7 separate regions of the Homo sapiens genome follow, and regions 2, 3, 4, 5, 6 and 7 are each linked to region 1. The links are contacts of gene promoters, found by promoter capture Hi-C in blood cells and fetal thymus (Javierre and others, 2016). All regions are on one chromosome and are shown on one strand. Each heading gives the region's core, a stretch centred on a gene start or on the middle of the fragment in contact. The rest is flanking DNA. Distances are from core to core; before and after follow the strand shown.

Region 1 (3,905 bases), core at 126-2,625:
CTCTAAAATAGTGATCAGGCTGTCCACCTGACCCAAGAACCAATCTTAGCATCCCTAAAAGTGAGACAGCTGGGGATAGCCTGCAATAAGAAACAGAAAGCACCACTTAGTAGAAGCATTCTTGCCGACAAAACTTTGAATGAGAATCTGACCAAGCCTCCAAATGAACATTCATTTTACAGGACATGCAGGTGATACAAACGTTAAGTGACACCACAACGAAGCTATCAGACAAATTCAGAGTGTGGGGGCACTGGACAAGACAATCAGTCCTGTCTCTTAGGAGGGGTAAGAGGAGGTTGCTCTAAATGAAGTGACACGTCTAAATGTAACCTGTGGACCCTGTTAGGATTCTCATTCACGCAGACCACTGTAAAATGTCATGTTTGAAAAAACTAGGTAAACGTGAGTGAGCATGGACTACAAAATGATACTGGAAAATTAGTATTAGTGTTGTTAGGGGTGATAATAGCATATGTAAGAAAATCCCTAAAACGTTTGAGATGTATTCTGAAAAATGTAGAGGTGAAAGGCCATGATGACTGGAATTCGCTTAGGAGTGGCGGGAGAGAAAATAAACGTGGCAAAATCTTCCTGTTGAATTTACCCGGTTGTGTAGGGGTCAGGGCTCACTTGACTATTTTCTCCCACTTTTTTGTGTTTGGAAACAATTTTTTTAAAGCGTGTTCATCGGCTACTGACACATCATGCTAATTGAAGTGTTGGGTGCAGGTTTAAAAAGTTTCGAGGGAATTGGTGTGTCCGTGAACAATCCACGACAAACGTGGTGGGGCCCGCGGGAGCGCTGCGGCCCAAGACAGTGTGACAAGCGGGAAGATCACGAGTCCGCAAGACACCAAGCCTCCAGAAATGCTCCAGAAACGCTCCAGAAAGCCTTTAAAGAACGGATTTGAACCCAGCCCTCCCACAGCGGCTTCACCCTGGACTCCACGAAACGCCAGCAGATCCACGCGAGAACCACACACACCTGGGGCTGGCGCCGCTGGACGCCGCGGCTTCACGGAGACCCAGGGCCCAAGCAGAGCCAAGGAGCGGCGGCAACCGCGGGGGCCACTCGGAAGACCGCGGAGCCCCGGCCTTAGGCGCCGTCGCGGCTGCCAGGCCCGCGCACCTTCCAGCTGCGGTGAGCGCGCTGCCCTTATCCCGGTGCCTCACCTCTTCCGCGCCAGCTGCAGACGCACCTCCCTGTCCTCGGGCGTCTCCCTCCGCCCCTCCTCCTCCTCCTCTTCGTCCTCAGTCCCAGCTCGGCACGGCGCCTTCACCACCTCTCCGAAGAACGTGGCCGCCATAGCCGCCCCGTGACCGGCTGGACACAACTGCAGCGCCGCGGGACCGCACGCCGGCTTGCGCGAGACCACGCTCCCTCACCGCGCGGGCAATAAGTCCCGCCCCGCACAGGCCACGCCCTCCGCGCACAGCCCAAGCTCGCGGCCACACCCCCACCGCGCGGGCGCTACGTCCCGCCCCGCACAGGGCTCGCTCCCAGGCACACCCTGAGCTCGCGGCCACGCCCTCTACACCGCCCGCCCGCGCTGTCATGCCCTGGGCCAGCAGTCCCCGCAGCTTTTTTGTTTTTAAATTACAGATTGGGGGAGGGGGTCTCGCTATGTTGCCCAGACTGGTCTCGAACTCCAGGACTCTAGCGATCGTCCTCCTTAGACCTCCCAAAGTGCTTGGATTACAGGCCTCAGCCACCGCGTCCGGCCCCCAAAGGCTTTCATTCGCAGCTTGAGCCCTGCGGGCGCCAGGAGGTGGGAGGACTGCGGGCTAGAGGGGCAGGGGGCGAGAGGAGGGCGGGGCCTCCGTTCGTGGCGGTAGCGGAACCAGGGGTGCAGGGGCGGAGCCAGCGCCGCTGGCCGTGGCGTCCGGGAGCTGTGGGGCCGTCCCCTCATCGTCCGTTTCCATTTTCCTTCTGCGTTAGGAGAGACTGGGGTAGCATTAGTGTACTGAGCACCCGCTCCAAATTTCGACTGCCCAGGTAGGTGGCGGCGCGGTGGTACTGAGGGCCCCCGTAGCCAGGCGCGCCCTCAGACAGCGGGCACGGGCGGACGCAAGGGCAGCAAGAAATACAGCGCTTCGTGGTGGTATAAAAACGAGACCTTTACTCTGGCAATAGGAATTCACATTTCAAAAGCTGATGATTGTCAAGGCGATTTAAAAAACATTTTTATGAGTGTAAAAAATAGTGTTTTAAAGTTGGCCATTTTCTAATACAAAATGTTTCTTTTTAAATAGCCTTTAATAAGCAGAATGTGTGATTGTTCTTTAATTGGTTCTCTTTAAAATGTGCTGGAAGACAAAGTTCGAGGAGCACTGTTTCAAGCAAGAGAAAAAGGGGACATAATTTAAATGAAAATGAAAATATGCAGTAATGCAATGAAAAAACCGTTTCCTAGATTTAGTTGTACCGAAATACATGACATCGCCTGCATTTTGTGACTTTGTCAGTAGTCACGAAGGTAAGTACTACTTTGGGGTCAGAGAGAGCCTGTTGAGATAAAATCTCAAAGCTGTTAGAAACATTTTAAGATGTGGAAAGATAATCAACAAAATCATTTACATAAAATTAGTACTTAGCAGATGTACACATCTGCAAAAATAAAGTGAGTTTGGAAGCAAAATTTGAACATTTAGCAATAAAATTAAGACGAAATTGCTAGCCAGTAAGAGCTTAGGAAACTGGATATCCTTAGTGAGATAGAATAAACAAGATCACCACAATGATGTTTTAAAACATTAGGACTCCTGGGTTAACTGGTCTATTATGATGATGGAACTGCAGAATAAAAAGGTTGTTTGGGCACCACTTGTCTTAGTCCTTTTGTTAATTTGTCATTTTTACCAGTAAGATCTTCAATTTGATTTCACAGTTCCATGATGAAGAAATATTTTCTGCAAAGCAAATTACTGTAAATAGGGTAATAGTAATACATTTGGCCATGATTTAAATTCTGCACACATTTCAGAGAGAACAATTTTACAATGTTAAGTTTTAAGCAAATGCTTATTTCATGCAGTTACAATAAGTTTAGGCCAAGCACTTTTTAAAAAGGCAAATATGTTCGAATTAAATACTTAGCCAAAAAAGGATTTCATTATGCAAGACTGATAATACAATCTCAAATACTGACAGAAATTAACCCCACCACAGCAAATTATAAATTCAAAGCTTAAATTCTTTCATTACACTGAAATTGCTAAAAAAAAAAAAAAAAAAAAAAAAAAACTTTGCATAAAATAGTCTTCACCGAGTTAAGTATTTCATTTTATAGTTACTTGTTGAGGACATAATATACTCAATAAATATTATAAATTAAGTGTAAAATTTGAACTGGAAAGAAGTTTAAGCATTTCATTAGAGCTCAAAAATCAAACCCCATGCACCTAAAAGTAATAGCAGTTTATTAGGAATTCTTCCCTTTCTCACCTGTGTATCAACATATTGGGGATCAGTAATTTAGATGAAAGTATACTACAAAAGGAGCAAAGGACACAGACTTAGTAGGTTAGAATATTCTGGCTTATGCTAAAAAACAAAAAGCCTTTTTTTTAAAACAGACATGCAACCACAAATTTCTCAAGTATTTTAGACACTTGGTTCATCTGTATAACAAAAAAAAAAAAATGCATTTGACTTAAAAAAGAAATAGAAAACCCTAGGTTTCTGTAGTTTAGTTTTTCAGATTTACACATGCAAATCATATATTCAGATATTTTTAAATGGGAAAACAACTTACTTTCAACAACTTAATTTTTCCAGTAACACGTTACTATGTTAAAAAGATGCGACAGTATATTCATTTAATCTGGCAATTTTAATTTCAACAAATACATATTAACAACAAATTAAATCCTATTGTAAATACACTTCTTTGTTATACCAC
Region 2 (3,905 bases), core at 621-3,120, 500 kb before region 1:
TCCTGACTTCCTTAGACTAACCAAAAAACTTAATAGTATTCAACATTATTGCTACCAGAGTACTAAACTGCCTAGGATGAGAACTTGGGGTGTGGCTCCCCAAGTCCATAACAGATATGTGACAAAAGCACCCTCCTGGATCACTTTCACTATTCATTCATTCACGCGATTGTTCCTTGACTTAATACTTATCCACTGGAGTGACCGAAGGCCAGGTGTGCTCCCAGAGGCAGGGATAACAGTGGTGAGCAAGGAGCCACCATGCTCAGGGAGAAGTCAGACAAATAAAATGGAAAGACAGAAGAAAATAGAATGTGGCACTTCCCACCATAAGAACAAGTTGGTTTTCATTTGTGCACAACTTCACATTCTTTTTAGAGATGGGGTCTCACTACATTGCCCAGGTTGGTCTCAAATTCCTGGCTTCAAGTGATCCTCCCACCTCAGCCTCCTGAGTAGTTAGGATTACACACGTTTGCCACTGTCCCCAGCTACCTTGGTTTTGACATAATCTGGCCTGTAGCAGCTCCCTTTTCCCGTTCCTTCTTTAAGCTTTTCCAAACAGATGAATATCTTTCAATTTTCAGAAAAGTAATATCCTCAAACTCTTCAGAGTACTCCTCCCTTATCTGCAGAATTTAAACAATACCTCTTGCTTCTGTGTGTTGTTCATGGCATGTCATAACAGCCACAAGTACCTGAGCTGGATTTGAACAGAAAAGTGAGGATGATTGTAAAATGAAAAAGTATCAAGATATTTATTCTCCGAGGCCAGGTACTACGACTCACACTTGTAATCCCAGAACTTTCAGAGGCTGAGGCAGGAGGATCGCTTGAGGCCAGGAGTGTGAGACCAACATAGCAAGACCTCATCTCTACAGAATATTTTAAAATTAGCCAGGCATTGTGGTGTGTGTCTGTAGTCCTTACTACTTGGGAGGCTGAGGCGGGAGGATCATTTGAGCCCAGGAGTTTGAGGCTGCAGTGAACTATGATTGCACCACTGCAGTCCAGCCTAGGCAACAAGGGGAGAGACCCTGTCCCTTGAAAAAAAAAGGGTATTTATTTTTTGGATAATTGTAAATTATCAAAGAGGTCATTGTTTCTTTCTCCTTTAATATCATTTTAATCGGTGGATCTCCACTTTTCCTCCCCAGATTTCTTGCTCTGAAAATGAAAAGTGGCAAAAGTAGAGGAAAAGACACTGGTGGGTAGAGTCATGACAAATTTGACATTTCTAAACTGGGCTTGACAGTGGAACTTTGAAAATATTTATCTATCAGAAAATAGTTTCAGCCATGGGCAATTTGGTAAAAGGTTTAGTTGATGGAAAAACCGTAACTCAGTGTGACTGGCTTTAATGTAAGATGTTCTTGAAGGCCACAGAATCACCAGCATTTCCAACAACCTGGAAAATTTAGACCAGCTTGGAAAAATAACAGGGGGCTGGGGTCATAGCCAAAACACTGTGCAAGATTAGATAAATTTATGTGCTTTAGAGATTTGGATTTAAATATTAAATTATAAATGAAAGCAATGCTGAGGCTGTGTTTAAACAGGGCTCTCTGCCTATGTTCTGGTCTCTTTTGCCTCCAAAAGATTGGAATAACTTTCCAAAATAAGGTGTGTGCTGCATCTATATATAGTTGTTTCCCATTTGCATTTCTCGTAAAAGTATGTGCTCCTATGGCTCCTTTAAGTAGTTAAAAAGGACTCTGCCCTGTGGGTGCTGGCCTGTGTCTCAGTACTTTTGTGTGCCTTCCAAGCCCAAGACAATGACTTCTCTAAGAGGCAGCACTGCTCATCTGAGGTCCTTCCTCCTGCCACCCTGGCTGGTCTAGAGTTTCAGCCTCTGCACAGGCAATGGGCTAGTCCACTTGAAGTGCTGGGTCCATTCTGCCTTTTTCACCTGCCATGGCCCTAAAACGACTCTCTTCTTGAATTGTCTGGTGAACATAATCAGATTTTCTCCAATTTTGTTTCTGTTTTCATACCAAAAATGAAGAAAGCAACTGTGTTAGTCCGTTCTCACACTGCTATAAGGACGTATCCAGGACTGGGTAATTTATAAAGGAAAGAGGTTTAATGGACTCACAATTCCACATGGCTGGGGAGGCCTCACAATCATGGTGGAAGGTGAAGTAGGAGCAAAGTCATGTCTTACATGGCAGCAGGCAAGAGAGTGTGTGCTGGGGAACTGCTCTTTATAAAACCATCAGATCTCATGAGACTTCTTCACTATCATGAGAACAGCACAGGAAAACCTGCCTCCATGATTCAATTACCTCCCACCGGGTCCCTCCCATGACACATGGGGATTATGGGAGCTACAATCCAAGATGAGATTTGGGTGGGGACACAGCCACACCATATCAGCAACCCCCTTCCTGTAGAACAAACAAACCATCTGCAGAACAAAGGAAGAGTAAACCCAAGGCTTCATCATGGTGGTCCTCCCCCTTGCCCCTTTTTTCATCCCTCAAATTATACATGGAGTGGCATTAACCATTAACCACTCTTAGGTTTAAAACCCTCCTCCCTGTTGCCCTGAGAGTAATTTCCAAAAACATAGCTTGGTGTGGAAGCCCCGCTCATCTTCCCAGTTCTAGAGTCCCCCAATGCCCCCATCTTTGCTCTCTGTTTCTACCATAGCCAAGTAGGTTCTGATTCTTTCTACCTTCCCAGGTGTTGGAACATTCCAGGTTGGAGTGTTATTCTTACAACTCTTGTCCCCCATTTCAGTTGGCCAACTCCCACTCACTCTGCCAGGGTTTCCCCTAACCATCCCCCACTGTTGGCTTAAGTGGCCCCACCATGAGCTGTCATGCCATATCGCAGCGCTATTTTTGCACACTCCAATGTAATTGCGTTTGTACAGCTGCTCCCTGTTAGACTCCTGGAGGGCAACGGCTGTTTTGTGTTCCCTGTTGTGTCCTCACAGCCCCGCACAGTATTCAGCATATGATATGTGTTGAACAAATACTTGATGAATGGATGAATACAATTACAGGAACCAATGTTTAGGTTGAGCCATATGAAATGGCTGCTATTTAACCATTTTTAACCTACAAACATGGCAGTTTCATGATTCTATCTAATGAACTAACTGTCTTAGGAATACTGTGCCCCAGCACAAAAGACTGCTTGAAATTACCTCCAAAAGATGTAGGGGTCTAGGCCCCATGAAGAGAAGCTTCAGATAACACAGGAGAGGACAAAGGTAGAAGGAAAAGAGGATTTTGTGAAAAGAACTGAACAGGCATTTCCAATCAATTATATGCTCAGAATTTTTCCTGGTCTCCCAAATATTGCCCTTCAGCCTTGCAAACCATCTGGAAAGTTCTTTCCTCTGGATGAAGCATGCTCATGCCAAATGTGAACTCTGTACTCTCTGACAGTCGCAAGGAAGACTGTCAAATCAGGTATCACTATTGAAAAAAAAAAGAAAAATACTTTTTCTAAATCAGAAAATAATTCAATTTTATTCAGCTTTCAGAGAACTAAATAACCATGAGATTAAAATGCCAAATTGTGTATCACACTGTAGGCTTATAAGTACTATTATTCAGAAAAACTGGGTTGTAGGAGGAAAATGAAGCCCAAAATAAGAAACAAGAAAAAGTGAGATGGTCTAATTTGGGTGGAAGTTGAGAACATGCCGTTCTTGCCATGAGTAATTGAGAGTTTGATGGTTAAAAAGAAAACCGACCCGGTACTCTTCTCCTCCTCTGTAAGGAAGACCATTAAGGGCATAAATCCTTATCAAATCCAACCCCTCTAACTGGGATTGAGGAAAAGCTGTCTTGCATAAGGAGGGCTGAGGGTGTCTAAGCAACAACTACAGTTCTCCCTGGTGTTAAGGTCTCAAGTTAATAAAATGAACAATTCTGGAAAATGCAAATAGA
Region 3 (3,905 bases), core at 377-2,876, 470 kb before region 1:
AGGCTGGTCTTGAACTCCTGACCTCAGGTGATCCACCCGCCTCGGCCTCCTATAGTGCTGGGATTACAGGCATGCGACACCGTGCCTGGCCAGCTATTTATAGCAATAAAATATCAAAGGCCTAAATGTCCAACATGAGGGAAGGGGTCACTCTGATGGGGTTCTATATCCTTCTTCAAACATGATTATCGAGAGATCTAAATAGCAGGAAAATGTTTGAAATACGATTTTTCAGGAAAAAAAATAAAAAAAATCAACAATGTATAGGGGGGAAAATGTCCAGAAATAAAAGTGGAAGGAAATATGCCAATGTATAATGAGTTGGCTCAGGAATAGAGAGAAAATATCATTATTATTTTTTTACTACTTGGTATTTGTATGTTTCTAAATTCTGTATAATGAGCATGCATTTCTTTGAAAACATCAGAATAAAAGTAAATTAAAAGATGTAGTAATAATTATATCAAGAGATCCCTTCTTTGGTAAGAAAATGGGTTGACTTTGCTATGCCTGCTAGACATTATGCTGTGGCAGAAGTAATCAACCTGCATTGTATTCTGAGTACTTCCTCCAGAAAACAGCTCTGATAAGCAGTCCAATCTCAGAGGAAGGTGAAGAAGGGCATCACAAAAGTGTCCTCCAGTATCCCTGTATTTCTGTCTGTTTTTATATCAGCTGCTCCTGCGAAACTCCTATAACAACCACTAAACCAGCCCCAAAGCTGGTGGAGTCTAGTGAGATATTCATTTCAATGGATTTGAGCTTCTGTTGTTTTAATGTGTATGTCTTGTGTGTCAGTAAGTGAATTTCTGTGTAGTAGAATAAATAGATTTTTCCATTTTTTCCTGCAATGCCTGTATATTACTCTAATCGGAAAGATGGGACCACATTTTTAAAAGAATATTGTTAGAAAATAATTGAAGGGGCTTTAAAAGTAAAGATCAAAAGGGGAAATATTTCTATTTTTTTCTCAAATAAAATGTCAAAAGTGTTTCAGCTTTGAGTTAGCATTCAACCGTCCTGCAATGCTTTGGAGAGTGAGAAAAGGTGTGGCATATCTCCCAAAACACAAAGAAGAATATATTAATGAATGTATTGTCTGTGGCCGTTTCATACTACAACACCAGAGTTGTGCAGTTGCTACAGACTGTGTTTGGCTTACAAAGCCAAAAACATTTATTATCTGGCCCTTTGCAGAAAAGGTTTACTAAACCCTGGCGTTACATGTCATGACATTAAAAACACTTGAGTTTGCAAAATCTGTCTTAGAGAAGATAGATAAGTTTCTTTCAATAATGCTGCTTTTAGAAATTCAACCTTAAGCTTTCTTGACAGAAGCACATTGAATCAATTTGGATTGCCTCTGGCTGCAAGGAACAGGAAAGCCAACAGTGGCTTATAGACACAGGGTGAACTCAGCTCAGGCAGGACAGACTCTCTGGTGCCATCTGGCTGTTTCCAGCTTTTCATCCTTAGCAAGAGGTGCTTGTCTGTGCTTTTGCCTTAAGGTCACAAGGTGCTGCTGCACCACAGTCCTCAGGCTCACCATCCAGCAGGAAAGAGAAAGAAAAAGATAACTAGAACAAAGGCAGAAAAGCAATTCCTTTTTATTCTGGAGGGCCTCCCTTTCCTGCGATTTACAGCTTCTTTTGAATGCCCTGTTATGTCGTATGGCTTTTGGAAACAGCAGAGTTGCCTGGGTGAGTTATTTTTCTTTAACTAGGCATGTTGAGGCCACAAACCATATGAGGGTTTTGTTAGATAGAAAGGGGACGACATGTACATTGGATGGGCAGCTGATGGTGTCTGCTGCAAATATATACAGCATCACCACCAAGAAGCCTATGTATTGATACATTGAATGTATCATCTGCTTTCAAATTGTTTTACTGCAAGCAGTAAAATGAATGCAAACCCCTAGGTACTGACTAAGCTTGTCCCCTGTCCTGCCTAGTTGTCAGCCCTGTTTCCTAATATGAGGCTGTCCTTTCTAGGGTCCTTTGAACTCCCTTCATATCTCTCCCAGACAAAAGCTCTAAAGGCGGAGATAAAGCTCCTGGGGCTGGGAGGGCACAGCCACCCGCCCTCAGCAGCACATCTGTTCAGGGATATGAAGTACCTTCTCCTTGCTATAGAAGCCCCTAGTTTTAGTGGGTCAGTTTACTTTCCCCCATCTCCTCCAAGGACAAATAATTTGTATCTGTAGAGACTGCCCTTGGCCTTGTCTTCGGTAATCCATACTCTGAGTTATTTGGTGGGGGGAGGGGGGGGCGGGGGGGGGGCGCATTCATATCTCATGGCTCCTTAAAGAAGTTCCAAAATCCAGACACATGACCGACTCCCTGGTCCCTGCAATTTTAACTCATCTAGAAGAACCACTCTTGATTTCTGAATGGTTCCTCCATTGTACCATAGAATTCTGACAGGTATTTCTTAATTAACCGTTCAAACTTTCTTCCCTGAAGAGTTTAACAGCACAAAAACCCAACAAAATATGCATAATCTTTAAATAAACTCAACAAAGTCTGCTTCATAAAAGCATTACACTTTCCAAATTCTTTATTCCTTCACCCACTTCTTCAATATTTATGAATTATAGATGTGGAAGAGGATTTATCATGATAAAGTATCTATATTTCAAACCCACCAGTGATTTACTTCTCAGGGGTGACCAAAAAAGATGCAGATTGATGTGCAACAATTGAACACAGGTGGGAGTGTCCACCCTCTGCCACTGTGCTAGTTATGCACGGTGTTGTTCCGTTTCCATTGTCTCTCCAGGAGCCACCTTGAGACTATTTGTTGGACATGCTCTTGCTGATTCACTCACTGCCATCATCCAAGGCAGAAGATACTGAGAATCATACAAACAGGGACCCATTCCAGAATTCTAAAGGGCTAAAGCTGAAAATGACTTTAGTGATTCCCTGAGCAACTTTCTAATTTTAGAGACTAAAACCCCCAAACCCAAAGAGGCTGAGATCCCCGAGCCTCTCCCCCAAGTTTTAATTGGTATGTTACATTAAACAATGTAATTTGGCTGTGTTCTGTCTCCCTGCATTGGACTAGAATTGGCCTTGAAATGAGTAAATACAAAACGATACTATGGTGCATTCACGTGTTCAATATTCTACTAACACAAAGATAATAAAACAGAAAGAAAATAAGATTGAACTAAAATATCCTCCCCCTTTGCCAATTGTGCTCCCCTCCCACTGCTGCCCGAGTTATAGCCCAGAGCCCAAGATCTCTGTCTGCCAGCTGTCAATGCAAAATTCTTTCCACCCATGGTGGTGTTTGCCATGTGTAGGCAGGGGCAGTGGGAAAAAGTTTATAGAAACTTTGACTTCCAGTCATCACTTGTAAGTGTTCCATGCACATTCACACAGTCAACCAAAAGCATATGTTCCGACAAGTTCACACTCTCCCACTGCCCTCCCCGGCATCCTCAGGGTTATGTAGAAGAGACTAGAACAGAAAGCTGTTTCTGGTTTTTGTTTTTGTTTCTATTTTTATTCTTTATTTTAAAGAAGGTAGTTCTTGGAAGCAATTGGCTAAACTTCTCACCAAAAATTAAGATTAAAAAACACAATGGGTGACCTAAAGAGGCCAATCAAGTAGTAAGGAAACCAGAAAATGCCAAATAACCAAGCATAGCATTATTCTCAAAGGGGGTGGAAAGTCTATACAGAAATTAAGCCCAAGAAATACTGAGTTGATTTACAGCTGATCTAACTAATGCATTTCAGAGGGAGGAACAACTCTCCTCCCATGACTATATCTCATGAGTTTGCAATGCATATTATAAATGATGCAATGAGAGACGGGATCCATATTTCCTGGTGTTAACTCTTGGAAAAGAATGTGATCATCTAAGGGTTGCAAAGGAGATTCTTTATCTGTGC
Region 4 (3,905 bases), core at 938-3,437, 430 kb before region 1:
TATTAGGTTAATCTACAGCTATCTGTGGCAATAGCAATAGTTTAAAGAGATGAACACACAGCTCAAAGTGGGAAAGTGGAGAATGGTTGCTATCTCATTTTAATGCCTCTCTGGGCCTGATAATTTGAAAGGGCTCACGTTCCTCACATGAAAGTTCTTTTCTTTCCTCTGGATTGAGTTCACACATGGCACATGGAGTATGACCTGTACATTCATTCACTCAAAACAAAAAACAAAACAAAAAAATAGCTCCAGGCAGTGACTCATGCGTGTCATCCCGTACTTTGGGAGGCCAAGGCAGGAGGATCTCTTCAGGCCAGGAGTCGGAGACCAGCCTGGACAATATAGTGAGATCTCATCTCTATTTAAAAAAAGTTTTTTTTTAATTAGCCAGGCGTGGTAGTGTGTGCCTGTGGTCCCAGCTACCTGGGATGCTGAGGTGGGAGGATCAATTGAGTCCAAGAATTTGAGGCTGCAGTGAGCTGAGATTGTACCACTGCACTCCAGCCTGGATGACCAAGCAAGATCCTGTCACAAAAACAAACAAACAAACAAACAAACAAAACTATGCAGCAGCAACTATGTGCTGGGCCCTGTTCTGGACCCTGGGATACAGCTGCAAACAAAGGTCCTGCTCTTATGGAGCTCACATCTTGTGAGGGAGAAGCAGGAGATGGAGATGTAACGTGCTCAGGGTGATGAGAGCTGAGGAAAGAAGTGAGCTGGAGAAACGGATTGGGACACGGGAAGGCATCACTGACGCGGGGTATATGAGTGACAGCTTGGATTTGTGTCCCTGCCCAAATCTCATGTGGAACTGGAAGAGGGGCCTGGTGGGAGGAGATTGGATCATGGGGGCAGATTTCCCCCGGCTGTTCTTGTGATAGTGAGTGAGTTCTCATGAGATCTGATGCTTTAAGAGTGTGTTGCGCTTCCCGGCCGGGCGTGGTGGCTCACACCTATAATCCCAGCACTTTGGGAGGCCGAGGCAGGTGGATCACGATGTCAGGAGATGGAGACCATCCTGGCCAACATGGTGAAACCCCGTCTCTACTAAAAATACAAATATAGCTGGGTGTGTTGGCGTGCACCTGTAATCCCAGCTACTCGGGAGGCTGAAGCAGGAGACTCGCTTGAACCGGGGAGGCGGAGATTGCAGTGAGCTGAGATCGCGCCACTGCGCTCCAGCCTCGCAACAGAGCGAGACTCTGTCAAAAAAAAAAAAAAGAGTGCGTGTGGCGCTTCTCTCGTTGCTCCCTCTCTCTCCTGCCACCGTGTGAAGAAGGCCCTTGCTTCCCCTTCTCCTTCCGCCATGGTTGTAAGTTTCCTGACGCCTCCCAGTCATGCTTCCCGTACAGCCTGCAGAACTGCGAGTCAATGAAATCCCTTTTCTCCACAAATTACCCAGTCTCAGGTAGTTCCTTACAGCAGCGTGGGAACAGACTCAAGAGCTGAAGCAAGCAAGGCCGTTAGCAAGGAGCGGGCTGGGGAGAGCACTCCAGGCAGAGGGAACAGCCAGGGCCAGGGCCTTGAGACAGACGTGAGCCAGGATATCTGAGGAACAGCAGAGAAGCCAGTGTGGCCGCAGCTAAATGAGGAACAATGTGTGAGTTCCCTGGGGCGGCCAAAACAAACACCACGGACGGGGGCCTTCAACCACAGACACCGATTTCCTCACAGCTCTGGAGGCGAAAAGTCCAAGAAAACTGCACGGAGTATCTATGAGGCCCTGATGGAGACCTGACCTGGTCCACACCCATGGCCTGGCAAGCTAGATGGGGTGAATTTTCACCTGCCACAGTCGCAAGTCAAAGCCACCGGCTTCTCTCTTCTCCCTCCCATTGCTCCTGACAGCCAGGGTTAATATTTTGCCTCATGTAAACAGGGAGGCATCCACCCGAGAATCTCCCCTCAGCCCACATAAGCTCTGCAGAGAGGGCTGTGTTGCTCCAGTTCCCACCTGGACATGAGCACTTTGAAGGGCAGCTTCCCTCCCGGGGTCTGGCTGAGCTCAGGGTAGGCGTCAGTCTGCATGGATTGGATGGAGGAAGGCTGTGCGTGGCAGGAGATGACACTGCCCTTGGGCTGTGTGGTTTCTCTCTGTTCCGAGCCCTGTTCCTCCACCTTAGCGGAATAGCGCCTCTCCATCCAGTTCTCATCTTTGAGAACGATTCTTGGGATGAAAGCCACGACGTTGGATATGAACAACCTGGTTGCCAAGTTGTTTGCATTTTTGCCTCCTCTCCTTTCTGAAGGGAAAAGCTGTCCTTGTGTGGGGCCACTTCAGACCCCAGTGAGCAAAAGGAGTGATGTTTAGGGGAAGGCAGGGAGAGCAGAAACTTGCATATTCCACACCTTCTGCGGCTGGGCACTGGGATGGGCCTTTCTCATGGCCGGTGGGATGGGAGAGGAGAGAGGTCTCCATCCAGCACCACTTACATCACACACATAAGCGACCTGGGGTATTAGTGGCTAGGAGTGCAGGTTCCAGATATCTCTCAGGTATAGTCTCCGCAGGATCCTGTTCCTCCCTTACCACTCATGAAGCCACTTTTCCCCCCAGGAGCCTTGGTGGCCTCCTATCTAAAGTGGGGATGGCACACAAATCCATGTCCTTGTGACGGTCCCATGAGAGAAGCAGACAGACCCTGTGCACACAAGGGCCTGCAGGGAGAAGCGCTCTACACGTGGCGACACCCTTTCCTCCCAGGATGGTCTCCTCTGCATTCCTGCTGTCATCCCAGCGTCCCACCTGATTCCCCAGGACACAGCTGACTAGAAATCAGCCCTGGACTAGAACCCACCGCCCGCCAGGGGTGGGTACGCTTTCTCGGAGGCCCCCATGGGGAGGCAAAATGGAAAACCACACCCAATACTCAACCTACAGTGGGCCACTAATTCCCAAGGCAATTCTGCTGTTTGTATCTGTGGGAGAAATGCATTTCCTTTGTTTTCGAAAAAGCAGATGGCCAGGTGTCATTGGCAGAGGGGCTGCAGTGAGGGCAGTGAGGGAGAGCAGAGGAAATGAATGGACAGTGCAGAGGACAGGCCAGGTGGCCCACAACCAGGCAGACAGCTCACGTTGCCTTTTCTGGAAATAGGGACTGCATGACCAATCTGTGCCTGTGCCTCTCTGGCACACAATGGACAATTTCGGAAAACTTCAAAAGAAAAAGCCAAGTTGATTTTGCTAAAAATGTGAAGTTTCTCTCTCTCTCTCTCTCTATCTCTTTAATGCAATGCATAGTTTATCATTTTCTTGTCTTTAGGATTAATTAAAGACAGGGCTAAATTTGTTTAAACAAGCTCTAAAATATTAAAAAAGAAGAAGAAGGCAAAGTACATAGTGTTTCCAAGTCCAGGGAACATTCTGTTCCCTGGGCTTCAGTTTATAACTGAATGTGCTTTACGTTTAGAAGACAAGCTATAGCTTGTAAAATGAATGTGGAAATAATCTAAAGTATGAGGCCTCCATTATTTATTATGTAATTGGAGAAAATTCTGGCTGGGAGAAATCTCTAGCTGAAAGCCAAGATGATCCCTACTCAATCGTTCTTAAACAAAATTAACATGTATCCATTTCTTTGATAATATTTCACTGGCAGGCAGTTCCTCTTCTAGGCTGCTATGAGCAAATTGCCAAGTTGGGTGTCACCCGTATAATCATTATCATGGGAAACCGTCAGAGTTCCTTGGGCAAGGGAATCAAAGATTTCAAGTGTTGACATTTTGTTAAGTAGGTTTTTTATAAAGTCTTACATTTAGAACTTTTCAGAACATGTCATCTCCAAAATCAGTAATCATTAAACGACGTCCAAGACCATGTTTTTGAGATCCTTCTATACTCTAAAAGCATTTTGATAATATTATTCCATAAACTGCCCCTTTTTTATTAAATGCATATC
Region 5 (3,905 bases), core at 779-3,278, 410 kb before region 1:
TTGATCACTGACCAAGCACTCTCAAGCTTCCGATTCCCCTAAATCTCACCTGATTTTCCAACACCTCCGAGAGCTTGACATTGCCACTTTTTACACATGAGAGGTGAGGATATCGAACCTCTGAAAGGTTATCTGATCAGCCTGGGATCTCCTGGGGCAGAGCTGGGCTTAAGAATCACCTGCTTGAGATTTCACCTGCAATTGCCTGACCCATGGGGCTGTGACTTCTTGGATTAAAGCATCATCCATGCACCTTGTCACTCTACATGGGCAGAGCAAGCCAACCTAGAAACCAATCAGGAGCCACCATAACAAACACAGCCGTGACTCAGCTCTCCACCTGCACACCTCCACCTGCCCATCAGTCCACATTGGACACTTAACACCCACAAAGGATTTGAAATTTTCCCAACGGCCTCTCACAGGACACATAAAAGCAAACACAAGCTGTCCTCAGTGCTGTGCTACAGAATACGTTATCCATTGGTTGATCACACAGATCCAGTGAAATATTGTCAGGGAGTTCATTTGAAAACTGTTGTTGCCATGATGTGCTTGTAGTGCCGTCTGTCAGAGCAGATATTGACCCATTCAAATCCAGCGGCATAAGACAAATGACCAATAGAGACAGTCGTTTCCAGGGTAGGGTCTCTATTATTTTTAGCAAATTTTTCCCTGTAGGGTTATGTTTCGGATGCTTCAATGGGCAGATTAAGATGTACTGTGACAGTGATAGAGAATTAGCAGTGGATAGAATTGAAATTATGTCTCATTTCAGGTGTGGTCTTCACCAGGTCTCACTCATTGGCCTTAATTGTCAATTGAATTGAAAGGGGGTCCTTGCAGTCAAGGTCAGAATTTGGGAGGCTCAGAAAATCAAGAGCTGATTGCTGTCCATGGACAGATGTGACCTTTAGGTGTTTGGCCACCCAGCCCAGTTGACTTGGATGAAATGTGTAGAGAGGCTAGAGCCACAGACTTTGGTTAAATTTATCTGATAGGATTCTGAATTCCTTCTGTGTTATCTTGAATTGCTTTGAGTTTTCTCAACACAGCTATTTTGAATTCTCTGTCTCAAAGGTCACATATCTCTTTCTCCAGGATTGGTCACTGATGCCTTATTTAATTCATTTAGTGAGGTCATGTTTTCCTGGGTAGTGTTGATCTTGTAGATATTCTTTGGTGTCTGGGCCTTGAAGAGTTAGGTATTTATTGTATCTTCACTGTCTGGAGCCACAGACTTTGGAATCAGACACACCTGATTATACATCTCAGCTCCTCCATTATTCACTCTGTGACTCCAGACATGTTACACCACCTCTCTGAGCTTCTAATTCCCTGCATCCATAAAACTAGACAGTCATACTTAAATTATTGAATCATTGTAAGGTTTAAATTAATTAATGGAGACAAAACATCTTACTCATAATAAACACCAGTAGGTGTCAAAGGGAGAGAGTGTCTTTTTTATCTGAGCATTTGTACTGAAATGAGAACATTATGATAGCAGTGGATAGCAAAGTCAAAGTAACCATAATTTTTAAATATCCCCTAATGAACTGACCATGTAGAGAAATAGTTGACACTCAAACCCCCTTCACATCTACCATCAGCCTTAATGGTAGTCTATTGGGTCAATGTCTATGCCAGTCTTAGTAACAAATGAAAATTGAAAACACTGCAAATACAGTGCAAACTGATGACAACATGAAACTCCAAATCTTGCCTATGATATAAGGTTCCCTGAAGTTAAAGAAAGTGATGGAGGAACTACCATGATTGTTCAGTGTGCAGTGAAAGCTGATGTTACTGTAATAATCTAAAATTCATTAATAAAATCCCAAATTGGCTGGGTGCTATGGCTCATTCCTGTAATCCCAGCACTTTGGGAGGCTGAGGCAGGCAGATCACTTGAGGTCAGGAGTTCGAGACCAGCCTGGGCAACATGGAGAAGCCTGGTCTCTACTAAAAATACAAAAATTAGCCTGGTGTGGTGGCACACACCTGTATTCCCAGCTACTTGGGAGGCTAAGGCAGGAGAATCGCTTGAACCCAGGAAGCAGAGGTTGCAGTGAGCCAAGATCGTGCCACTGCACTCCAGCCTGGGCAACACAGTGAGACTCTGTCTCAAAATAATAATTATAATCCCAAATTACTTCTTTTCTTACTTTAAGTTTTATTTTTCAAGACAAAGTTTCAGCTGTCACACTGCCCTTGTTGGTTCTGTGAAATCATGTTCCCCATTTTAAGTAAATTCACTTTTCAGTAAAAATTACTCTTTGAAGACAGAGGTCTATGTATATACAAACTTACATGTGTCATTTCACAGAATAAGGAAGAAATGGTTTCACAAATTATATTGCATCAATGTGAACTCTCTTTGGGCACAAACACAGGATAAACATCTGTCAGATAGGATTAAAGTGCCTGTGTGCCACTGAGGAATGGGATGAAGAGAGAAGGAAGATAATAAGAAGAGAAGGCAAGAAGAAGAAGAAGAATCAAACAGACAGAAATGGAACTTCCCTCAAAGGTGGTGCAGACCTGCCTGGGGCCCCTGAGAGCAGGAAGGCTTTCCTCCTGAATCCAGCAGAGCTCTTCTCACCACGTGGCCAGAGTCTGCCTTCTGCATGAATGTCATTGCCTAAGTGACTTCGAGATGCAGATGGAGCGTGGTTTCACCCTCAGTCTCTCCTCCTCTGGTTCACGCCCATGTCTGATTCCTGGGCATCGCTTTGCCTCAGAAAGCCACCTCCAGTCTTTCCCACCCACTTCCAATTTGCCCTTGCCCCTTCCTCCAAGCCAAGGCAGTGGTTGTATAAACATAGCTGTATGTACAACACTCAGCTTTTACACTGGTCTCCATTGAATGAGTAATCGCATTACCAACCTTCTAAGCAAGTCGGCTCCCTCAGGACTGCCGTCTTCCAGCCCTCGTAGTACGAAAATGATTCATTAGTCCCTTCATCACAATAACATGAGTCACATGTTATGAAAAGCTAGGAGGATGTATTTTGTGTACACTGAAATCTAAGGTTTGCAAATTTCTGCAATTTAACTTTATTGAGGAGGGAGTGGGGTAGAAATGAATTCCACATTTTTTCTAAGTACGAAAACCCACATCAGGCAACATCTGCTTAAGTCAGTCTCCAAGGACTCAATGTAAACGGTTGTTGATATAAATAGATGTGTTTTTAAGCAAAGACAGATGTCCCAGCCCCAAATGTTAAGAAAACAATTAAGTTCAAAGACATGTTGGTTTTCATTTCTTTCCCAATAGGTGAATCTTCACTGGGCTATGACAATGAGGGGTGGAAGAGAGAACACTGTGTTTCCCTGTGGAAAGGTGTGTTGTGCCGTGGGTGGCAGGTGTGAGCTGCACACATGCAGGATGGCGTCCGCTTGCCTCCCTAGTGTTGCTCGAGAGGCCTGGGTCATGACGCCTTCCCTTACTCATGCATTCTCACGGCACTTGCTGATTTATTTGAAGACTCCCCTATTCAGAACTCCTCAGAATATTATTTCAGGGAATACTAAGTGGGAGGCATTAGGAAATAAGTCCCCGGAATTTGGGGGTCCATGGGAGAAGAAACTAGAAGCCAGCAGGACTCTGGAGCAAGAGTGGGCTATGGGACAATGGTCCTCAGTAGGAACGGGCCTGCATCTCGTTCTCCCAGAGCAAGGATCTGAAATCCAAAAGATGATCAACAAATCTGCATTTCGGCAGGAGGAACATTCCCAGTGAGCTTATCAGGAAAGCTAGCACCAGGCAGAAAGGGTCATTTCTACACAGAGAAATTCACATTGTTTGTGTCAGGCACTTTGCCAGAAAGCATTTTGACAAATTCCCTCGTTGAATGTGAGGGATGCAATGAAGAATTTAAAGTTTCGCAGGAATTAGTGAC
Region 6 (3,905 bases), core at 576-3,075, 360 kb before region 1:
TATTGACTGCCAACTCTGTAGTTAAGTAGGCATACAGTCTGTAGGACAGCCTGGCATGGGGGTGGTATGAGGCCATTTTACAGATGGGGAAATTGGCTCACAGGCAGACAGCTATCGGTGCTCACACAGCTCTGGTTCTAGAATGCCTGTCCCGTGCTTTACAGCAAAGCTTTATTGATAACGGCCATTGCGTTTCTGAGGAAGAGCTATTTGGTAGAAAGAGGTTGGGCTTAGGGTCGGAAGATCTAGGCTCTTCTCCTGTTTGCTGTGATGGGCGTGTGATCCAGGACAAGGCACCTGGCCTCTGAGCCGCATCTTATCCCTCCTCTTTAGAACAGAACCACACTGACACCTGCTTTGCAAGGTGGTAGTTCTAAATGTCAATCGAGGACAGGTGGACGAGAAGCTCTTGGCAAAGCATGCTTCACCAGACAGAGGCTGTGAGGCAACGGGTGTGACCCCGCGTGGCTATTGAGTAAACCGGGCTCACATTAAGCAATTTACACATGGTCATTTGGCAGGAAGGTGGCATGGGATCCCACGTATGACACGCCTCATTCTGTGATGAAACACCCCCTCAGCCACCCCCATCTCTGCCCCACTGGGTGTTTCTAGAAAAAAACCTTGAAGGTTTTTACATAAGGAACAATTAAACCAGATGGGGAATTTTAATGCCAAGAGTTGGTGGCCCTAAACTTTCTTCCAGAAAGAACAAACCTAGCAATCAAGGGGAAGAGTGTCTCGCCTAGTGACCTTATTTTCTAGGAGTAGGCAGTGTGGAGCAGGAACTCACATTTGGTGCCCCGCCCCATCCCGTTAAAGCACTTAGTACTGTCACCAACACCTTGAGTGCCACCCTGAGTGTAACATCGGAACCCCATTCAGAGAGTTGGGTCTGCATTCCTAAATCAGCATGTACAATTAGGATGGTTAAAGACTTGCTGTATTTTACATCTGTGAAAGGGTATGATCCGTCTCCCTCCCTCTCCCCGCAGGAAGTGGACCTATTCAGCTGTGGCAGTTTCTCCTGGAGCTGCTATCAGACAAATCCTGCCAGTCATTCATCAGCTGGACTGGAGACGGATGGGAGTTTAAGCTCGCCGACCCCGATGAGGTATGGCCAGAGCCCTGGGAAATCTCTGGGCTTGAAAACCTGATTTCCTGCTTGCATTCAAAAACTCAGTTCTTTGGGCACAAAAAAGGGTTCACCAGTACTGCTGAGAATCTTTCCACGTGAGGCATCCTTGGCTGTTGGGAAAATGGAAGTGGAGTCATTGCTTTGTTGATAAACGTGTACAGTGTTTTCTGGGTATGCTTCATACAAGGGCGTTGCACAGATTTCACTGTCTTGATCAGTTGTCTGATCAAGAGGCCCAAGCTGCAAACTGAGGTTCTCTGCTGACCATCTGAAAATGCCTTAGGAAGGCTGCCCTTGTCCATCGGGGGAACAAGCCTCATGTGGCCCCGAGCCAGCCTTCTGTCCACTCCTTAGCTGAGCCCAGCAGTGTTGACCCCAGCCCTGCAGAGTTAGAACCAGGAGCCCTGTCTAAAGGAGAAGGCCAAGGGCAGGTGGGATACCAACCCCGCCAGAAAAGCGTTAGAGAGAAGCCCTTGGTCTCTGGCACTGGGGAGCGTAATCTGTCACCATTCCCACCCCGCCTCCAGTTCCCTTGGGAGACAAGCATTGAGGAATGAGTATATCACACAGCTCAGAATCCCACTCGGCACCTGTTAACTTCAGTAGTTGGAATATCCAGCCTGGAGGGTGGGTGACACCACCTTTCCCTGGTCTCAGGACCCTCCTGGCTCTGAACCCTTGGCTCCCAGGAGGTTTCACTGAGCTGGGGCCAGGGAGCAGGGACCTCATTCCCCAGTGGTTCTGCCCCTTGGGGACACAGTGCCCCTACCATAGGTACTCAAAGGTACTCAGAGGTACTCAAAAGGTCCTCCTGCGGACCTTGTGTAGGTGTCAAGTTCTCTCTAGAGTGAACATGCCTCAGAATCATAATCAGGGAGGAATGTCATTCACTTTTTCTTCATTGACAAATTGAGTTTAACTCTTTTCCATCCATGTTCACCAAAGGTGGCCCGCCGGTGGGGAAAGAGGAAAAATAAGCCCAAGATGAACTACGAGAAGCTGAGCCGGGGCTTACGCTACTATTACGACAAGAACATCATCCACAAGACGTCGGGGAAGCGCTACGTGTACCGCTTCGTGTGCGACCTCCAGAACTTGCTGGGGTTCACGCCCGAGGAACTGCACGCCATCCTGGGCGTCCAGCCCGACACGGAGGACTGAGGTCGCCGGGACCACCCTGAGCCGGCCCCAGGCTCGTGGACTGAGTGGGAAGCCCATCCTGACCAGCTGCTCCGAGGACCCAGGAAAGGCAGGATTGAAAATGTCCAGGAAAGTGGCCAAGAAGCAGTGGCCTTATTGCATCCCAAACCACGCCTCTTGACCAGGCTGCCTCCCTTGTGGCAGCAACGGCACAGCTAATTCTACTCACAGTGCTTTTAAGTGAAAATGGTCGAGAAAGAGGCACCAGGAAGCCGTCCTGGCGCCTGGCAGTCCGTGGGACGGGATGGTTCTGGCTGTTTGAGATTCTCAAAGGAGCGAGCATGTCGTGGACACACACAGACTATTTTTAGATTTTCTTTTGCCTTTTGCAACCAGGAACAGCAAATGCAAAAACTCTTTGAGAGGGTAGGAGGGTGGGAAGGAAACAACCATGTCATTTCAGAAGTTAGTTTGTATATATTATTATAATCTTATAATTGTTCTCAGAATCCCTTAACAGTTGTATTTAACAGAAATTGTATATTGTAATTTAAAATAATTATATAACTGTATTTGAAATAAGAATTCAGACATCTGAGGTTTTATTTCATTTTTCAATAGCACATATGGAATTTTGCAAAGATTTAATCTGCCAAGGGCCGACTAAGAGAAGTTGTAAAGTATGTATTATTTACATTTAATAGACTTACAGGGATAAGGCCTGTGGGGGGTAATCCCTGCTTTTTGTGTTTTTTTGTTTGTTTGTTTGTTTGTTTTTGGGGGGTTTTCTTGCCTTGGTTGTCTGGCAAGGACTTTGTACATTTGGGAGTTTTTATGAGAAACTTAAATGTTATTATCTGGGCTTATATCTGGCCTCTGCTTTCTCCTTTAATTGTAAAGTAAAAGCTATAAAGCAGTATTTTTCTTGACAAATGGCATATGTTTTCCACTTCTTTGCATGCGTTTAAGTCAGTTTATACACAAAATGGATTTTATTTTTTAGTTTAACTGTGTTTCTCCGACAGCTCACCTCTCTCTGACCACCCAGCCATTTCCTTCCTGTGCTCCACGTTCTTCTGTGTGATTAAAATAAGAATATTATTTTTGGAAATATGCAACTCCTTTTCAGAGATCAGGAGGGATTTATGTAGCAGCTATTTTTACTGCAAAAGTAATTCACTGGAAAAAAAATGTAATTTGTAAGAAAGCTTTATTTTTATCTCAGCTCTATGTAAAGTTAAAGTTACTGTACAGAGCTGAAGGACGGGGGGCGGTAGGGGTCTTGATGAAACCTCTTGAACGAAGCACAGTTTGTCCCATCTTTGTTCACTCGTGTGTCTCAACCATCTTAATAGCATGCTGCTCCTTTTTGCTCAGTGTCCACAGCAAGATGACGTGATTCTTATTTTCTTGGACACAGACTATTCTGAGGCACAGAGCGGGGACTTAAGATGGGAAAGAGAAAGCATCGGAGCCATTCATTCGGAGAAAACGTTTTGATCAAAATGGAGACTTTTGTAGTCGTTTCAAAAGAGCACCTGAGTCATGTGTATTCCCGGCCTTTATAAATGACCCGGTCAAGTTGGTTTCAAAGTCCGACAGGCTTGTCTGTTTACTAGCTGCGTGG
Region 7 (3,905 bases), core at 482-2,981, 330 kb before region 1:
GATAATAATAGGGGACACTGTGGGAGGAGTCAAGGGTCTATGTAATATCTCTGCACAATTTTTCTTTAAACCTATCACTGCTCTAAAAAATAAAGCCCAGTTTTGTTTTGTTTTTAAAAAAAGAGGCCACGTGCAGTGCCTCATGCCTGTAATCCCAACGCTTTGGGAGGCCAAGGCAGGAGGATTGCTTGAGGCCAGGAGTTTCAGACTAGCCTTGGCAACATGGCGAGATCCTATCTCTAGGAAAAAAAAAAAATAGCTTGGCATGGTGGTGCATGCCTGTGGTCCCAGCTATTGGGGAGGCTGAAGTAGGGGGATTGCTTGAGCCCAGGCATTTGAGGCTCCAATGAGATATGATAATGCCACTCCACTCCAGCCTGGGCAACAGAACAAGACTCTGTCTCAAAAAAAAGAGAGAAAGAAAGAAAGAGAGAGAGAAGGAAGGAAGGAAAGAAGGAAATTATCACAACTATCGCTTCAGGCGTTGGCTGACCTAGACCTCCACCCCGGCCCTCACCACCTGGCCAGTCGGAGCCTTGGTCCTCTACATCCATGGGGCCCCTACTGCCTGAGCTAGGCAATCTCTCAAGACCCCAGGGCTGGCCTTGGCGGACAGTTCTCTAATTTCATTCTGGGTAAAGGGACCATGAGCGAGTTGCTCATGGCAAAGTCCCAGAGGATGAACAAGAGGCTGTGAGTCTCGGTCTGCCAGAGGGATTCTAGGAGAGAGAAGTAGCTTAATAAGCAAAAGGTGGCAAATATGAGCCGAAAGAAGGCCCCATCCCCTTGTAGTAGACATGCACTTCTGAAGACGGCTCAGTGGATTGGAGACTGTTCCCAGGGCCACCTTGGGAGGCATGAGGGAAGGAGCTTGGGTCAACCTGTCATACCCAAAGCAGAGTCACCCTCACTCAGGACACTTGCTGAACAGGGACAAACCAGCTTCATAGAAAATCCATGAAATTGTAGACTCCACCAGAAATTTTAGACTCCATCTACTTATTTCTCCTGGATTGTTACATTGAAAATCCAGGTCTCTCAGTTTAGACCTTTGGGGAGACTCTTCAGTCCTCTCCCCATCTGCTAACCTTGACCAAACACAAAGGAGAGAGGGGCTTCAGAGGAGGGTCCCTCGGACCTTGGTGGGCAGGACCCACTTTCCCTGTGCAGAAGGAAACTTGAAATCAGGAGACTGAGCCTCACCCAGGGACAGGCCCCACCACTGTGCCCTGACAGGCCCTTGTGGACAGAAAGGGACAGGGCGTAGCCTCACTTCGACCCTCTGGGTTTGCTGTGGGGCCAGCTGGGCCTGGTGTGGCTGAGCTCCAGAGTGCTGTCAGCCACTCCCAGTTCCCTCATGACCTGGGCAGGGAATATAATATCACCTCTATCTGTGCAGTAAGCACAGCAATGTCAGGGACACTGTTTTTAGAATCTGGCTTGCTCCCCTCCCCCAGCCCAACTGATTATCTGTCCTGGTTGCCAGGCACCTGTTTGCATTAGATACAGAACACTCCGCAGGGTCCCGAGTAGGCAGTTGTGGTCCACAGGCCACTGGCAAACAGAGGCAGAGCCACAGAGGGGCTGCTCGTCCCCAAATGTCTCTCCAGCCGCTCTGAAGCTGCTGCGGGCTGCTGTGCTGGTGATGGCTGAGATCATGAGATGAGCCCCGGGGGTCCCTGGGCATCCCTGGGAGGTCCTGGTTTGTGTTGCTGTGGTGGTCTTAGTCATTAAGAGATGACACTTTATAAAGAGGAAAAGAGCTTAGTAAAAGTGTTGTTCTCACCAGCAGGTCCATGGAGAAGGTGGAACACTGGACTAAAGAGACAGGCTGAGGAAGCCCTCAAGTCACCCCTGATGGAGGCCAGACCTTGAATGTTACAATCCCTCTGCTTATCGACCCTTAATAAAAATCTGAGCAGGTCTTCTCTGCAGGACACAGGAGGCTTTCTGGAAAAAAAAACATGGAAAAGTGAGTCTCCTAAGCGTTCCCAAGTGATTGATGCAGGACACATCTTAAAAGGATGAAAGGAGGATGGAGGAAAACTTCAGAAGGAAATAACACAGTTTGAATGAAAACACCTATTTTGCAGAAAGTCCGGAAGTGCTCGACCAAGAGATCGCGAGATGGGAGCAGAGAGTACAGGAAAGGAAGGAGGAGAAAGAAAGGCTGGAAACCTTTGAATGCACAAAAAAAACAGGTCATGAAAGATACCACGAGCCAACTAAAATCTCTGGCTGAAAATGTGCTGGACACCATGCAGTTGGAAGATTTCACTAGGGACCGCAGTGATGAGGGGAACTTGGAAGCAGAGCTAAAGAGGAAAGCAGAAAATGAAGAAACCACCCCCTTAAAAATTAAGTAAATTTTTTTAAAGTTATGTGCATACATTCTGTATATACAGAAAAGATATCTAAATTGTATGCACGCAGAAGGAGCATTGCCCCCACAAGGAACAGTTCATGCTAAATGGTGCAGATGAAGAGACTTTGACAAAGGAAGTTTCCTGAGCTGTGGGCAGGGATGAGAGCTCAGACAAATGATGGGAAGCCTCCCAGATGCCAAGGTTTCCCACCCCCAGGTTTCAAGGGAGGAGAGAGGAAGTGATGTCATCTGAGCCCAGTGAGGCCCTGTCAAGGGACCAGGGAAAACTGCCCCCACTTTTTGCTCCCATCCTCTCATTGACTGCAGGTGCACAGGCAGCTGCCTGAAAGAGGGCCTGCGAAGTGCAAGCCAGAGGAGTTGGCCTCCATGGCACAGAGCAGGCAGAAAACAAATTTGGAGAATGACCAGCACTCTTGGGTTTATTTGACTGAAAGTGCTTGTTTTATTGCATTCACTCACATCCATTTATTTAATAAATATCCATGGAGTGTCTATCATGTCTTCTGCACTGTTCTAGGGGCTTGGGATACAGAGATGAAAAATGCCAACCCGATGAGGCCTGCAGACCACTAGAACTTACATTTTAGTGATGGGCAAGGTCAGGTAATAAAAGACAAGCAAGTGATGGGAATATGTGCTCTGCAGACATTTCCAATCCAGTGATGGGAGAACAGGGGCTATGGGAGAGCACCCAGGAGGCAACATTTAACCTGAGATCTAAAAGTAAGAAGGAGGACCCTAGGAGGGTCAGGGGCAGAATATTGCAGGTAGAAGGTACAGGTAGGATAAGACCAGGAGAACTCTGCCTCTGGGTCCAGGGGAAGCAAAGTAAAGTGGGGTTGTGGGGAGTGTGCAGAGCCCTGTGCACAGATGTGACATCCAGTGCAGTGTGATCACCCAGGGAAGGGTCTTACCCCTCGAGAGGTGGGGTTGCAGGGAAGGGGGCATGGAGGAATGTGTATGCCACCTTGACCTTTTTGGTTGTGGAGAGAACGGAATAAGAATTGGGGGAGAGGCAGGATTTCAGCGAGGGGTGTCACAGGGGTCTGCTGTTGGGGTGGTCATCACAAGATGAATCAAGGACAGATCGGGCTGTGTTTGGATGGTTGTGAGGATCAGAGAGGAGGAATGAAAGACACCCTTGGGTGCTTTCTTATAACCCTGTGATGTTTGTCACTACTTTAAGAAAGCCTTAGTAAAATCTCTGCAGGAGAGCCCCTGACAAAAAGTCAGAAAGGCTGTAGTGTATTAATTACCCCAGGGAAAGCCTGCTTTTCCCTAGCATAGAGTGTGGTGTGCCGCATGTCTCTCTTGAACTTGCATTTGGTTCCTGCACTACTCCCACAACAAGGACGGTAGGGGCGGGTACAGGTGGGGCTCCAGTGAAGGGTGGGGGTTCTCAGGTATGATGCGTTTACAGCCTGCATTGAGGCTATATGATGCCCCTCGTTTGGAGATTCCAAGAGGAATTTTAAGTTTATTCCACCAGAGTGCACCACCATTAAATAAGAAAGACTCA

Evidence for each region. The method cuts DNA at HindIII sites, captures the fragments that hold promoters and counts their contacts. A CHiCAGO score of 5 or more calls a contact.
Region 2: a contact is called between a fragment that was not itself captured here and the fragment with the promoter of PSMG1 in region 1, in 1 of 17 cell types (M0 macrophages). The highest score is 6.0, in M0 macrophages.
Region 3: a fragment that was not itself captured here is called in contact with the fragment with the promoter of PSMG1 in region 1 in 2 of 17 cell types (M0 macrophages and total CD4 T cells); the score reaches 5.6 in M0 macrophages.
Region 4: a contact is called between a fragment that was not itself captured here and the fragment with the promoter of PSMG1 in region 1, in 9 of 17 cell types (naive CD8 T cells, total CD8 T cells, non-activated CD4 T cells and 6 more). The highest score is 15.3, in naive CD8 T cells.
Region 5: a fragment that was not itself captured here is called in contact with the fragment with the promoter of PSMG1 in region 1 in 9 of 17 cell types (total CD8 T cells, total CD4 T cells, naive CD8 T cells and 6 more); the score reaches 14.3 in total CD8 T cells.
Region 6: a contact is called between a fragment that was not itself captured here and the fragment with the promoter of PSMG1 in region 1, in 5 of 17 cell types (total CD8 T cells, neutrophils, activated CD4 T cells and 2 more). The highest score is 9.7, in total CD8 T cells.
Region 7: a fragment that was not itself captured here is called in contact with the fragment with the promoter of PSMG1 in region 1 in 1 of 17 cell types (total B cells); the score reaches 6.2 in total B cells.

What each region holds. Positions count from the first base shown.
Region 1 is chr21:39,182,076-39,185,980 of GRCh38, forward strand. PSMG1 (proteasome assembly chaperone 1) reads right to left here and starts at 1,376. Exons shown (of 7, transcript NM_003720.4): 1 at 1,177-1,376. The coding sequence starts at 1,310. It overlaps BRWD1 (bromodomain and WD repeat domain containing 1), which reads right to left. Exons shown (of 41, transcript NM_033656.4): 41 at 3,407-3,905. RefSeq lists silencers at 1,052-1,131, 1,332-1,551. The HindIII fragment of the contact is 4,125 bases long and covers 1-3,188 here.
Region 2 is chr21:38,685,442-38,689,346 of GRCh38, forward strand. No RefSeq gene overlaps it. Among named protein-coding and RNA genes, the nearest start is that of LINC00114, 86 kb to the right of the region's middle. The HindIII fragment of the contact is 2,641 bases long and covers 551-3,191 here.
Region 3 is chr21:38,710,822-38,714,726 of GRCh38, forward strand. No RefSeq gene overlaps it. Among named protein-coding and RNA genes, the nearest start is that of LINC00114, 61 kb to the right of the region's middle. The HindIII fragment of the contact is 610 bases long and covers 1,322-1,931 here.
Region 4 is chr21:38,750,247-38,754,151 of GRCh38, forward strand. The region is part of intron 1 of LINC00114 (long intergenic non-protein coding RNA 114); the gene reads right to left. Among named protein-coding and RNA genes, the nearest start is that of LINC00114, 21 kb to the right of the region's middle. The HindIII fragment of the contact is 4,817 bases long and covers 1-3,905 here.
Region 5 is chr21:38,770,559-38,774,463 of GRCh38, forward strand. LINC00114 (long intergenic non-protein coding RNA 114) reads right to left here and starts at 2,919. Exons shown (of 7, transcript NR_027065.2): 1 at 2,891-2,919. The HindIII fragment of the contact is 4,008 bases long and covers 25-3,905 here.
Region 6 is chr21:38,820,591-38,824,495 of GRCh38, forward strand. ETS2 (ETS proto-oncogene 2, transcription factor) reads left to right here. Exons shown (of 10, transcript NM_005239.6): 9 at 996-1,114; 10 at 2,084-3,905. The coding sequence ends at 2,299. Among named protein-coding and RNA genes, the nearest start is that of ETS2, 17 kb to the left of the region's middle. RefSeq lists an enhancer at 1,811-2,348. The HindIII fragment of the contact is 3,317 bases long and covers 168-3,484 here.
Region 7 is chr21:38,855,984-38,859,888 of GRCh38, forward strand. It overlaps LOC101928398 (a long non-coding RNA gene), which reads left to right and starts at 1,556. Exons shown (of 3, transcript NR_109926.1): 1 at 1,556-1,642; 2 at 1,793-1,972; 3 at 2,094-2,879. The HindIII fragment of the contact is 9,082 bases long and covers 1-3,905 here.